Regions from separate parts of the Homo sapiens genome. Here regions 1, 2 and 3 are each linked to region 4. Evidence: promoter capture Hi-C in human tissues and cell types (Jung and others, 2019). All regions are on one chromosome and are shown on one strand. The core of a region is centred on a gene start or on the middle of the fragment in contact, and the rest is flanking DNA. Distances in the headings are between cores, read along the strand shown. Region 1 overlaps LOC124904475 (a long non-coding RNA gene). Region 2 overlaps LOC124904475 (a long non-coding RNA gene). Region 3 overlaps LOC124904475 (a long non-coding RNA gene). Region 4 holds the start of B3GALT2 (beta-1,3-galactosyltransferase 2).

Region 1 (2,993 bases), core at 291-2,790, 510 kb after region 4:
AAACTTCAAAAGGCAGTCATCAGAATGACTATTATTTATAAAAAAGATAAGTCTTGGAGAGGGGTTGGAGAAAAGGGAACCCTTGTACACAGTGGGTAGAAATGTAAATTGACATAGCCATTATGGAAAAAACTATGGAAGTTCCATAAAAAATTAAAAATAGAACTACCCTATGATCTAACAATCCCACTCTGTATACATAACTAAGGAAAATAAAATCAGTACCCCAAAGAGAGATCTGCACTCCCATGTTCATTGTAGCGTTATTCACAGTAGCCAAGATCTAGAAACAACCTAAGTGTTTGCCAGTGGATGAATACATAAAGAAAATGTGGTGTATATACACAATGGAGCATTAGCCTATAAAAAGAAGGAAATCCAGTCACTTAAAACAACATGAGTGGAGCCAAATGGCATTATGTTAAGTGAAATAAGCCAGTTACAGCAAGACAAATACTGCATGATCTCACTTATACATGTAATCTAAAAAAGTTGAACTCATGGAAGCAGAGAGTAGAATGGTGGTTGCCAGGGGCTGAGGTTTTTGGGAATGGGAGATGTTGGTCAAAGGATACAAAGTTTCAGCTATGCAGGATGAATAAGTTCTGAGACCTAATGTACAGCATGCTGACTGGAGTTATTACTGTATTGTGTAGTTAAAATTTGCTGAAAGTAAATCTTAAATGTTCTTGCTATACGTACATATATATACCCAAAATAGTATGTTTGTGAGGTGATAGATATGCTAATTAGCTTGATCCCAATGATTACTTTACACCTATGTATATATGTAAACATCAAGCCGTGTACCTTAAGTATGTAGAATTTTAAATTTTAAATTATACCTCAATAAACCTGGGGAAATAACGCAGTTATTAAATGTTTACCAGCACACCACTTACTCATATGGAAGGCTTACCCTCTGTTTTTGTTTCAAAGGGTAGAATCACAACCTCATTAACATTCATTTTCTTTAGTCCAAATTTGTCTCTTCTCACCTTGTTGGGCTTGAGTGAAGCAGATGGCAAATCTGTGAACTAATTAATCACTGCTCTTGAGGTTATATATTGTGTTTAAGAGAGCTAATGTAGGACACAGATTAGACTAACATTTCCCAGATTAAGCCACAAACATACAGAATTTACCTTGCTAAAGCCATAGCAATGGAGAGAGCAAGTGAACCCAGAATAAAACGGACATAAAAAAGCTTGTTTATTGCCTTGTCAGTGGTGAAACTCCTTGTAAAGACATGGATTAAATGAATATTCATCATAGATAAATATTCATTCAGTGATTGAGCTGGTGCTTTGTCATGATGAGAGCAAGTTAGGAGTCCATCAATAAATTAGCACTTGGGGGACAAATATTTATCTCTAACAATTATGTTATAATGGCTCCAAAGTACAGTACATGAGAGCAAACGTATGGTGATGTTAAGATGCTTTTAGATATATTACAGCTAAGTGTCATGTATTATTTTTATGTTACATATACTAAACTCTTTGTCATTGTTACTTCACATTTATTGGGCTGTAATGATTTTTTTTTTTTTTTCATTGAGGAAACCTAGAAGACTAAGTGAGCTTAGAATCTTGATGGAAAATTATATATAAAATAAACGTGAAAAAAGGATAAAATGATATTTAAGAAGAAAAAGCATTTTTGTAAAAGATTGTAAGTCGGTGAGAAATGTTTTTTATAGGATTAATATTTAGCTTGGTTCTGCGTAAAACTGTGTATAAATTTATCTAACTACATCAGAGACTGGCAGTATTTCTATTAAGGGCCAGATAGTAAATATTTTAGGCCTTCTAGGTCATAGAGTCTCTGTTGCAGTGTTTCAACTTTGGCACTGTTGTTGGGCAGAAGCAAGCAGAGACAATATATAAATGGAGTGGCTGTGTTCCCATGAACTACCAGGATTGTAGTGTGCCATGCTTGATCTGTAGCAATAGAGATTTGGTGATCACTCCAGTTACTTTTCTCAAAACAGAAGTTCTCCTTTAGCACCTGAATTGTTTTACCAGAAGTTTTATTTTGATCATATTATTTGGGAAATTCCCAAACTTTACTCTGTTTGCACTATGGAGATCAACTGTGGCAAAGAAATAAGGGTGCATCTTCACTATCAGATGGGGACTGAGATAACTATCTAGATATTTTAAACTCCAAAATATTTCCTCAACTCTCTGCATGTACTATGTGAAAATATTGTTTATCTGGATATGCTCAAGCTGTTCATGTAGTTTTCGTATTTAGCAGTGTAATGTCAAATTTGTTAGTTATAAGGTAACTATTAGATTTCTTGGTTAGGAAATTTGACTGCATTGGCTTAAGGACCTTTCTTTTTAAACATGAAATTCTAACAGAAAGTAAGATAAAAGTTTGGAAACCGAGGCCAAAATAATTAACCCATACCAGGACACATGGTTCCTATGTGAAACTGTACTGACAACAAGCAAACATAACTTAGCCACTAACTCCTGGACGATCACAACGTGAATCAACTAAAGTAGCTTACTTATCAAGAGTGATGGTTAATTTTATGGATGAACTTGACTGAACCACAGGGTTCCCAGGTATTTTTTCAAGCATTATTCTTGGTGTTTCTGAGACTTTTTTGATGAGATTAACATTTACAGACTGAGTAAAGTAGATTGCCCTGTCATATAGGTGGGCCTAATCCAGTCAGTTGAAGGCAGGAAGAGAACAAAAGGCTGTCCCGCCCAGGAGTAAGGGAGAACTTTTCCTGCCTGGAGGCTTTCAAATTAGGATATCTATTGTTTTGCCAGACTTCTGACTCAACAGAAATGCCAGCTCCTCCTGGGTCTCAAGGCTACTGGCCTTTGAACTGGAACTGTTCTGTACTCAGACTGGAACTAAACCATTAGCTCTTCTGGGTCTCCAGCTTGCTGACTCACCTTGTGGATCTCAGGACGTGCCAGCCTCCATAATTTAATCCTTATAATAAATTTATTTATTATATAATAACA
Region 2 (3,171 bases), core at 264-2,763, 300 kb after region 4:
CTCTGTGTGAAAGAGATGAAACATTGTGTGGTGGGGGTGGGGGTTCTAAATCCCTGTTCTAACAAGGTCACCTCTGAAAGCTCCTTGGAGTTGGAGCAGCTTTCCGTTTGTCTTCTGGTGGGAGGGAGGACTTGTAGGGAGAGACATGTACAAGCACTCACTCCTTTTGCCATGGAGGTGGGTACAATGTGTTTAATGTGTTCTAAGGGCTTCTTGCCTGTTTAGATCATGAACTACAAATTAGTTGAGAATGAACCGAGTACATTAAATATACATAATTATAACCTAGAATTATAAACTTATTAGAATAAGCTTCATATGCCTTGAGGAATGCGTTTAATAGGTAGTACTGTATTTAGGCATGGCTATATTCACTTTATCCAAACAGACAACTTCTCTTAAGTTATTTCATTGTTTGCCTGGTAAAGTTACTGGAACTGTAGTGACCTTCAAATAATAGAATAAGTTAATCTTAGATTTGTTGCTTATTTACCTGATAAGAGTAAAATAACTTTCTACATATTATACATATAAAATATTTTAGCTCCTACAATCAAATTAACATATTCACTTCAGTTACCTTTTTTTTGTGATGAGAACTGCTCTCATATCTCATCACATTTAAAGTATAGGTTAACTACAGTCACCATGCTATACATTAGGCCTCCAGAGCATATTAGTCTTTTTATATTAGTCAAATTTTGTTTTTAATTTTTTTTAACTTTTAAGTTCAGGGGTACAAGTGCAGGTTGTTACACAGATAAACTTGTGTCATGGGGGTTTATTGTACAGATTATTTCATCACCCAGATATTAAGCCCAGTACCCATTAATGATTTTTTCCTGATGCTCTCCCTCTGAAAGGCCCCAGTGTGTGATTCCCCTCTGTGCACGTGTGTTCTCGTCATTTAGCTCCCACTTAGGAGTGAGAACATGCGGTATTTTTTTTCCTGTATTAGTTTGCTAAGAATAGTGGCCTCCAGCTCCATCCGTATCCCTGTAAAGGACTTAATCTTTTCCTTTTTCATGGTTGCATGATATCCCCTGGTATATCTGTACCACATTTTCTTTAGCCCATCCAGAAATATTTGACCTAGCAATCGCATTACTGGGTAAGTACCCAAAGTAATATAAATCATTCTATTTTAAAGACACATGCACATGTATGTTCATCGCAGCAGTATTCACACTAGCATGGTCTTATAACTACAAGTTTGTATTCTTTGACCAACATCTCCCTCCCTGACCTTCTATGCTATATCTATGAGTTCAACTTTTTAAGAATTCACATATAAATGAATCATGCAATATGTCTTTCTGTGTTTGGCTTATGTCACTTTGCATAATATTCTTCAGGTTCATCCATGTTACAAATGAAAATTGTTTCTTCTTTTTTTTTTTTTTTTTTTTTTTGAGATGGAGTCTCACTCTGTCACCCAGGCTGGAGTACAGTGGCGTGATCTTGGCTCACTGCAAGGTCTGCCTCCCGGGTTCATGCCATTCTCCTGCCTCAGCCTCCCGAGTAGCTGGGACTACAGGCGCCCACCACCATGCCCGGCTAATTTTTTGTATTTTCAGTAGAGACGGGGTTTCATCGTGTTAGCCAGGATGGTCTCGATCTCCTGACCTCGTGATCTGCCCGCCTAGGCTTCCCAAAGTGCTGGAATTACAGGCATGAGCCACTGCACCTGGCCGAAAATTGTTTGCTTTTTAAAGGTTGAATAATTTGTGTATACACAAAATATACGTATCCTATTTTGTGTATGTATATATGAGAGACATATATCATAGACTTACATGTGGAAGATATGGAAACAACCCAAGTATCCATCAACGAATGCATAGGCAAATTGTGTATACACACCACAATTTATCCATGCATTCACTGATGGATACTTGGGTTGTTTCCATATCTTGGCTGTTGCAAATAGTGCTGTAATGAATGTGCTGTAATGAATGTGAATTATCTTTGAGATAGTGATTTTATTTCTTTTATGTATATGATGCACATATGATGATGGTCCCATAAAATCATACCACATGTTTATGGTACCTTCTCTATGTTTAAATATGTTTAGATACACAAACGCTTACCATTATGTTGTGATTGCCTACAGTATTTTTTACAGTAACATGCTATTCAGGTCTGCAGCCTAGGTGTGTAGTAGCCTATAGAATCTAGGTTTGTGTAAGCATACTCAATGACATTCATGTGACAAAATTGTCTAAGGAAGCACATCTCAATGTATTTCTGTTGTTAAGTCATGCGTGATTATATACCAAGAAGTGGGATTGCTGGATCATATGTTAGTTGCATTTTAATTTTTCAATGAATCTTCATACTGTTTTCCATAATGACTGAACCAATTTACATTTCCACCAACAATGTATAAGGGTTCCCTTTTCTTTACATCCTTAACACCTATCTTTTGACTTTGATAATAGCCATCATATGTGAGGTGGTATCTCATTGTGATTTTTCTCTGCTTATCCCTGATAATTAGTAATGTTGAGCAACTTTTCATTTACCTGTTGGTCATTTGTATGTGTCCGTGCTGCCCAAAGCAATCTACATATTCAGTGCAATCCCTGTCAGAATTCCAATGGAATTTTTTACAGAAATATAAAAAACAATTCTAAAATTCATATGGAACCACAAAAGACCTGGAATAGGTAACACAATCTTGAGCAAGAACAAAGCTATAGGCATCATACTTCCTGACTTCAAATTATATTACAAAACTGTAGTAATCAAAACAATATGGTACCAGAGTAAAAACAGACACATAGACCAATGGGACAGAATAGCGATCCCAGAAATAAACTCATGCATATATTGTCATCTAATCTCTGACAAAGCCGGCAAGAATATGCCACAGGGAAAAGATAGTCTCTTCAATAAATGGCATTGGTGAAACTGGATATCCACGTGCCAAAAAAAATCTGATTTCACCATACATACAAAGAAACTAACAATGGATTAAAGACTTAAAAACTGGAGCCATAAAACTTAGAAGAAGACATAGGGGAAAAACTCTATGACACTGATGTTGGCATTGATATTTTGATATGACACTAAAAGTACAGGCAACAAAGGCAAAAAAGAGTGGGACTAAATGCAACTAAAACATTGTGGCATAGCAAAGGAAACAACAATATGAGAAGGCAGCCT
Region 3 (3,276 bases), core at 381-2,880, 490 kb after region 4:
ATTATTTTTCTTATAAGTAGCATCCTTGATTATTTAAAAATACTTCTACATTGTGAAAACACAATGAAATTATCTAGATGTACATCAACTAAGTGATATCACAACAAAATATCTTTAAAAATATATATGTCAAAAAGAGAGAAAGATTTGCTATCACAGTAGTCTCAATGGCTAATCTAAATACCTACACAGGAAAACTTATGGTATCTTGTTTCATATAACTGTTTAATTCTGTTTGCAGTGAAGAACTGAGGTGGTTTTAAAATACTGAAATATGTTAATCTCAAAACTATTTACTTTGAAGAAATGTTTTATTGGATTTAATGATTTAGAAGCAAATTGTATACTGTAGGCATGCAATAAACATAGATTTTTCTATTTTATGGACATATTGCAGAAAGGGAAATACTATTTTTATTTTTGAAGTACTTTTTCTGCTGTCAAAAGTAGCCCCAAAAGGTAAGCAAAGTAATGAATGAATAATGAAAGCCTCTGGAATTAACTTTTTTCCATTTATTTATTTATTTATTTATTTTATTTATTTACAATATGCAGGTTTGTTACATAGGTATACATATGCCATGTTGGCTTACTGTACCCATTAACTGGTCATTTACATTAGGTATTTCTCCTAATGCTGTCCCTCCCCCAGCCCCTCACCCTACGACAGACCCTGGTGTGTGATGTTCCCTGCCCTGTGTCCTTGAGTTCTCATTGTGCAATTCCCACCTATGAGTGAGAACATGCAATGTTTTGTTTTCTGTCTTTGTGATAGTTTGCTGAGAATGATGGCTTCCAGCTTCATCCATGTCCCTGCAAAGGACATGACCTCATCCTTTTTTATGGCTGCATAGTGTTCCATGTGGAATGAACTTTTTTTGGTAATTTTTAAAATGAAGATTGACAATAAAGTAACTAGATCAGTGAGTGTGAGTGTCCTCGTAAGCAAAAATGACTTATAGTAGAGCATGTACTTTAAGTTGTCAGATAATGATACTGAGGGATTTATAATGGTACAGCCAAAGTCTGCTATTGTTATCAGATGCTAGGCATGAGCTAGATGAAATGGGTTTAGAGGTGCAGTATATGAAGCTACTGGCTAACTGAGCCCTCTTAACATAATATTGTAATGATAGATAATTTTGTAATCATCCAAATGTCTGTTAATTTTATTATATTGTTGCCTCAAACAATATCTCTTTCAGTGGTTGGAATTATGGCACATAGAGAGCTACAGATGAATTATAGTACTGGTTGATCTAATTAAAAAACAAATCTCTTCCAGCTTTTTCTTAATAATTATGAGCCATGTAACACATGCAGAATCCTTCCTTCTGGTCTTGTGAAGGCATCACAAACTAATCAATGTGCTGATGCTCAGTTGGTTAAAGTACCGAATCTACTTTCACATACTTCCAGCCCACTGCAGATAGTTTGGGCTATTTGGCTTGTTTTGGCCAATAAGCTGTGAAAAGAAGTGATATCTACTACCTAGACACTAAAGCAGAGAATAGTACCTGAATTGTCAGCTGTCTACCTCCTGGAAGGTCGGAGGAGGTTCCATCATCCAGGTGGTGCAGTTACAGTTTGCTGGAGTCTGTGTCAGCCTATGTTCTATCCCGTGCAACTCCTCCCACCCCTGCAATTGAATTTAAGGATGTATCCTGGCTAACGCAAGTACAATTTACAATAACAACAAAAACAAATGCTAGTAAATGTTAACTAGTAAGAAACACATACATTCACAATTACTTCAAAAACTTAGATTGCTAGTCTATAGAGAACAGTTTGTGTAAAGGCATGGAGTCATGAAGTGACTTGATTGCTAGGGGAACTGCTGCTGGACTGTACTGAGTAGAGCATGTAATTCTTGGGGAGTCATGGCAAGGTGTTAACTAACTCATAGGTTTGCCTGGCTATGCTGTATATGTTTACATTTGTAACAAAATTAAGAGAGCCCATATCATTCAAACTCTTAAAGAAAACCTGAATGAGAACTTCAAAATAGTAATCACTCATTGGTTGCGATGATTACTTATAAGAACTTATCAACCAGCTTTCCACATTACTTCTGACCTCCAAGTATAATAGTTAATGACCCTGTAGTGCATAAGGTCACAATGTCCACATAACTATTTCTTCTAGACCAATAATTGTCAATCTTTCCTAGACATAAGAAATCCCTGGGAGTCTATAAAAAATGCAGGATGCCAAAGCCACACTAAAGACTGATTAAATCAGAATATCTGGGAGAGGTCCTAGTCATCTGTATTTTGCAGAGATCCTGAGATACAAGATACAGCCAAAGTTGAGAACCACTGTTCTAGAAAGGAGAAATATGCTATTATATCATATATGCTTCTTCATCTTTGATATGTATAAAAAATTACAAAAGCCATTATTTCCACCTTAGTAATAACTTTCTACTGGTTTATGGGTATGTGGTATGTTGTCATTTCTAATGACCAAGTTTCCTTGAATGATTTAACTGCCTTTTCCTTAGGAGTGTTATTTGAAAAGAATAGTAATACCTCTGGGGAAATCTTAAAATTCCCGATTTCTATGTTTCAAGGGCTAGATTAGAGTTTTCCCAGGTTTTGATCCATTAATTTACTTCCTCAAGGCCTTAGCTAGACAAGGAAAGTGCCATGTGGGAGCTGACATTCAGATAAAATCACTACATGTGTTTGTTTGAAGGTAATTATTGAAGTAAACACATTTGACATTATTCCAGTGTGCCAGGTGCAGGATATGTGTATGTACAAATGTGTGTGTCTTGGGAACAACAATACATCCTTGGTGTATTAAAGAATTGGTAAAGAAAAATACTTGATATTTACACAGTGGGAAATTTTTTTTGAAGCTTTTGCATCTTTATGAAGTCTTTGCAAAGCCTGAATTTGTTGGCACAAGTAAATTCCATCTGTTGCTCTTAAAGAAATATTGACTTGCACTTTATTATTTGGAAAGACATGGGTGAAATAAGTTTACATATAGGTGTTTGATATGGTTTGGCTCTGTGTCCCTACCCAAATCTCATCTTGAATTGTAGTTCCCACAATCCCCACATGTTGTGGGAGGGAAGTGATTGGATCATGGGGGTGGGTTGCTCCATGCTGTCCTTGTGACTGTGAGTTCTCATGAGATCTGATGGTTTTATATGTGTTTGTCATTTCCCATGCTCCAGCATTCTCTCTCTTGCTGCCCTGTGAAGAGGTGCCTTCTGCCATAATTGTAAGTTTCATGAGGCTTCCCCAGCCGTGCAGAACTGTGAGT
Region 4 (3,281 bases), core at 265-2,764:
AAGCATAGTAGCTACATTTATATTTAATTTTTTGACCTTGTATTGCCATTTGTGGATATTTTTGTATCAAAGTATTTCCATATTATGTTTTTGAATTTCACTTCTGAAATGATAATCAGAGACAACGTTAAATTTGATCATTTGGAATCAGTCTTTTACATAAAATGTAAGCTATTTAAAATAGTTAATTTTTAAAGCCACTATTGATGTCCCTTTGTTTAAAGTTCTATTCATGGTCACTATAATAACACGAGGCTCTATTGTGGGGTTATGCATAAACTCACACTACCTTATGTGATCTTATGTTAATGCTTTCCTTTTAGTATCTTCTTGTAGCTTGGTAATATTTAAAATTTGTTGATACTCTCTTTGGTTGTGTTCATTATCTTCATTTAGGGAGATGTTGGGGAAGATTTTGTTACTAAAAGCTGTTACATATTAAGGTTTTGTTTTAAAAGGACTTTGAAAAAAAAACTCTTAAGGTTTTCCTTGCTACTATTTAATGAAATTTCACTGCATTGTGTCTTTTGATAGCCATTTTTAAGAGAGCATTTAATTTACTAGATAAGGATTCAGTTTGACCTAATTTGATAGAATATTGCTGTGTTTTTTGTAAAGGGCTACAGATTTTTTTTTAAGTTTAATTTCTTAAGGAATCCTTTAAACACATCTTCTTCTTATTTGCCTTTTCCCTCTGATGTCTATTACCCAGAATTACTCCAAGCTACATATTTAGCTGCATAAAGCAGTGACAGCTTGTCTTCTAAACAATGACAAATTTTAAAATCAGATATTAAGAAACCTTTTCATAGTTTCAAGGGCAGTGAGCTGTATGAACTTGCTTATCAGGTATTAGTGCCTCCAGGGCTATAAAAAGGTAACACATTTAAATGACTATCATACACAAGATATTGACATACCTTCCTTGGTCAGGCCATTTATGTGAAGAGGATTATGCCCACTGAAAATACTTTTGGCACGCCATCACTTCAGCAAAAAAGATGCTATCGAACATGCGCACATCCCCCAACAGTCTGCCTCCTGCGATTGCTTTTCACAGTATCCAAAGTGTCCATCTGTCTGCTTGTCTTCGAGTTACCCTCCTTGTTCATATGGGTCCTAGTCTTCTGAAATTTTCCCTTTCTTTCATTTTCTCTCTTTCGTTAAACAAAAGAGCTGTAGTTGCCCGTTCTGCTTGTAGCACTGTTGACTCTTCCCGACAGTTGATGCATTGAAGCTTTTTACATCTGCTATTTTCCTGGCTGGACAATGCAGTGCTGTGTTCTCGTCTCAGTATCCATATTTCTACTAATAACACTGAGCTGCAATGTAAAGCAGCCAGAGCTAAAATGTAGTGCTTCAGTTGTATTGGAAAAGAATAGGATTTACCTCTCTTCTTTCGTTGTTGCCTGGCAGCTGCAGGAAGGATTTTGAGCAGTTTTAATGGGGTTTTAGTCTATAATATGAAATCCACGGTTCCTCAGCTGCTGCACAGGCAGGCAGCAGTTTAAATGTGGGCTTGACAGATGCTCTCTCTGACAGAGCAGAATTTAACGTCACTGCTTGGCTGAATCCCACGTGATTGTTTGCATTCATTTTGACTAAAAACCTAAGGTAGGGAGAAGCTTAGAGATTTTGCTTTTATGTGATAAATTATATATGTTGAATGCAAGTGTAGTGATGAGTGAATAATTTGAAAATGTGATGATTATGAAATGGTTATGATTTTATTTTTTCCAGCTTACTTCCTTTTTTAACTTTATTCTTAAGTACAGGCTTTCTAAGTGTTTTCTGTGTTAGATGTTGGTTTTCATGTTTCTTACATGCTTTTGTAGGGTGTAAGCAGTATAAGCTTTTGTGTGTAAGTTGGTGTAATTTAACCCCTTCAGTGCATTCTCTTCTTGAAGTTTTTTTTCTCTGCTTTCAAATTGCTCTTGATTTTTTACTAATATGTAGTTAAGACCTATGGTTTCTATTGAAACCATGTATCTTTGTAATTTAGATCCCCCCCCCCGTTTTCTGGGGTTTGTATAAATAAGCTGTCTTGGATTACTTTACTAATGCATGATGTGATACAGCCCACTTCTTTTTTGCTCTTATGTGGTTTTTGGTGTTCTTGATGGCAGAAAACTTTATTTTAAATCACTTTTTAATGTTGTCATTTATTTTTTATTTATTTTTCCTTCCCTTTAAAATTACATGTATCGTAGAATTCAGTAAAATGATGTAATAGATATAGCACACTTGTACAGGATCTGGGGGTAATGAGATTTTACTAATTATGTTTACTTATTCTAATGTTTCAGAAAGATTTAATAACTTGCCATGAGGCAGATTTTATTAACACTACACACTCACTGAGATTTTTCTAATATGGTTAGTTTCTGGGGCTGGCACCTTCTTTTCTTACTGCAGAGCAGTAGGGAAGGTTTTTTTAAATTTTTTGTTGTAGTAAAAAGCCTTTATTATCAGTTTTTCCTCTGTGACTCTAGGGACAGTAATTCAGTCCTAGAAAGTTATAGTTTTGGAGCTTAAGCTAAAGGTTAACAGTTATATACATATTCTTCATCTCACTGCCTCCACCATTAATATATGCTATTTCAAATGAATATGAATTTGTTTTCTCTGATATTAAAAAAAATTTTGTCCACATATTTTTGAGCTTTGCTGATGAAATGTGCTTTGTAGTTTTAAGAACCCCACTGTATTAGAAATGTTAGAAGGATCGTTAAAGAAAAAAAAGAATTTTATAAATAGGAAACCTAAAGCCTAGACTGAGCTTTGACTTTTCCTAGTTAAGTTTGAAGGAGAGGACTAAAACCCAACTTCCTTGTAGTCTATATCCACCCATACTGCAATTCTCACTCACTACCGTTTTGTTTTTAAAATTAGTTTACTAGTTAACAGAGTAATGCTTAAGAACTTACTTAAAATAACTTATTTTCCAGAAGTACAGATGTGTTTTTGTAGATCAGTATTTATTTATCAGTGATTCTTTACATAGGATTTGACTATGAAGCTAGCCACAATGACCATTTATGGAGTATTTACTGAAAATCAGATTGCGTGCTAAGCTTACTTGAGCTGTTATGCAAATGGCTCTTTTCTAATAATTTTATTATTGTAATACCCACTTAAAAGATGCAGAACCAGTGCCTGGAGTTGTAAAATAGTCCAAATGTCAGATAAATACTGATAAGAATAGAGGCCAAGCTGGGAATTGAAGCAAGATTATCTAAATTCTTATCCTCTGTGTTTTTGTTTTCTTTTTAAATCTATCT

Evidence for each region. Contacts are between HindIII fragments. The study calls those that stand out against the background at their distance.
Region 1: a fragment that was not itself captured here is called in contact with the fragment with the promoter of B3GALT2 in region 4 in 1 of the 25 tissues and cell types used here (H1 embryonic stem cells).
Region 2: a contact is called between a fragment that was not itself captured here and the fragment with the promoter of B3GALT2 in region 4, in 1 of the 25 tissues and cell types used here (mesenchymal stem cells).
Region 3: a contact is called between a fragment that was not itself captured here and the fragment with the promoter of B3GALT2 in region 4, in 1 of the 25 tissues and cell types used here (mesenchymal stem cells).

What each region holds. Positions count from the first base shown.
Region 1 is chr1:193,694,545-193,697,537 of GRCh38, forward strand. All of the region lies in intron 3 of LOC124904475 (a long non-coding RNA gene), which reads left to right. Among named protein-coding and RNA genes, the nearest start is that of LINC01031, 390 kb to the left of the region's middle. The HindIII fragment of the contact is 5,530 bases long and covers 1-2,993 here.
Region 2 is chr1:193,482,800-193,485,970 of GRCh38, forward strand. All of the region lies in intron 3 of LOC124904475 (a long non-coding RNA gene), which reads left to right. Among named protein-coding and RNA genes, the nearest start is that of LINC01031, 180 kb to the left of the region's middle. The HindIII fragment of the contact is 3,425 bases long and covers 1-3,171 here.
Region 3 is chr1:193,670,023-193,673,298 of GRCh38, forward strand. All of the region lies in intron 3 of LOC124904475 (a long non-coding RNA gene), which reads left to right. Among named protein-coding and RNA genes, the nearest start is that of LINC01031, 370 kb to the left of the region's middle. The HindIII fragment of the contact is 3,906 bases long and covers 1-3,276 here.
Region 4 is chr1:193,185,099-193,188,379 of GRCh38, forward strand. It overlaps B3GALT2 (beta-1,3-galactosyltransferase 2), which reads right to left and starts at 1,515. Exons shown (of 2, transcript NM_003783.3): 1 at 921-1,515. All of the region lies in intron 10 of CDC73 (cell division cycle 73), which reads left to right. The HindIII fragment of the contact is 2,577 bases long and covers 1-2,463 here.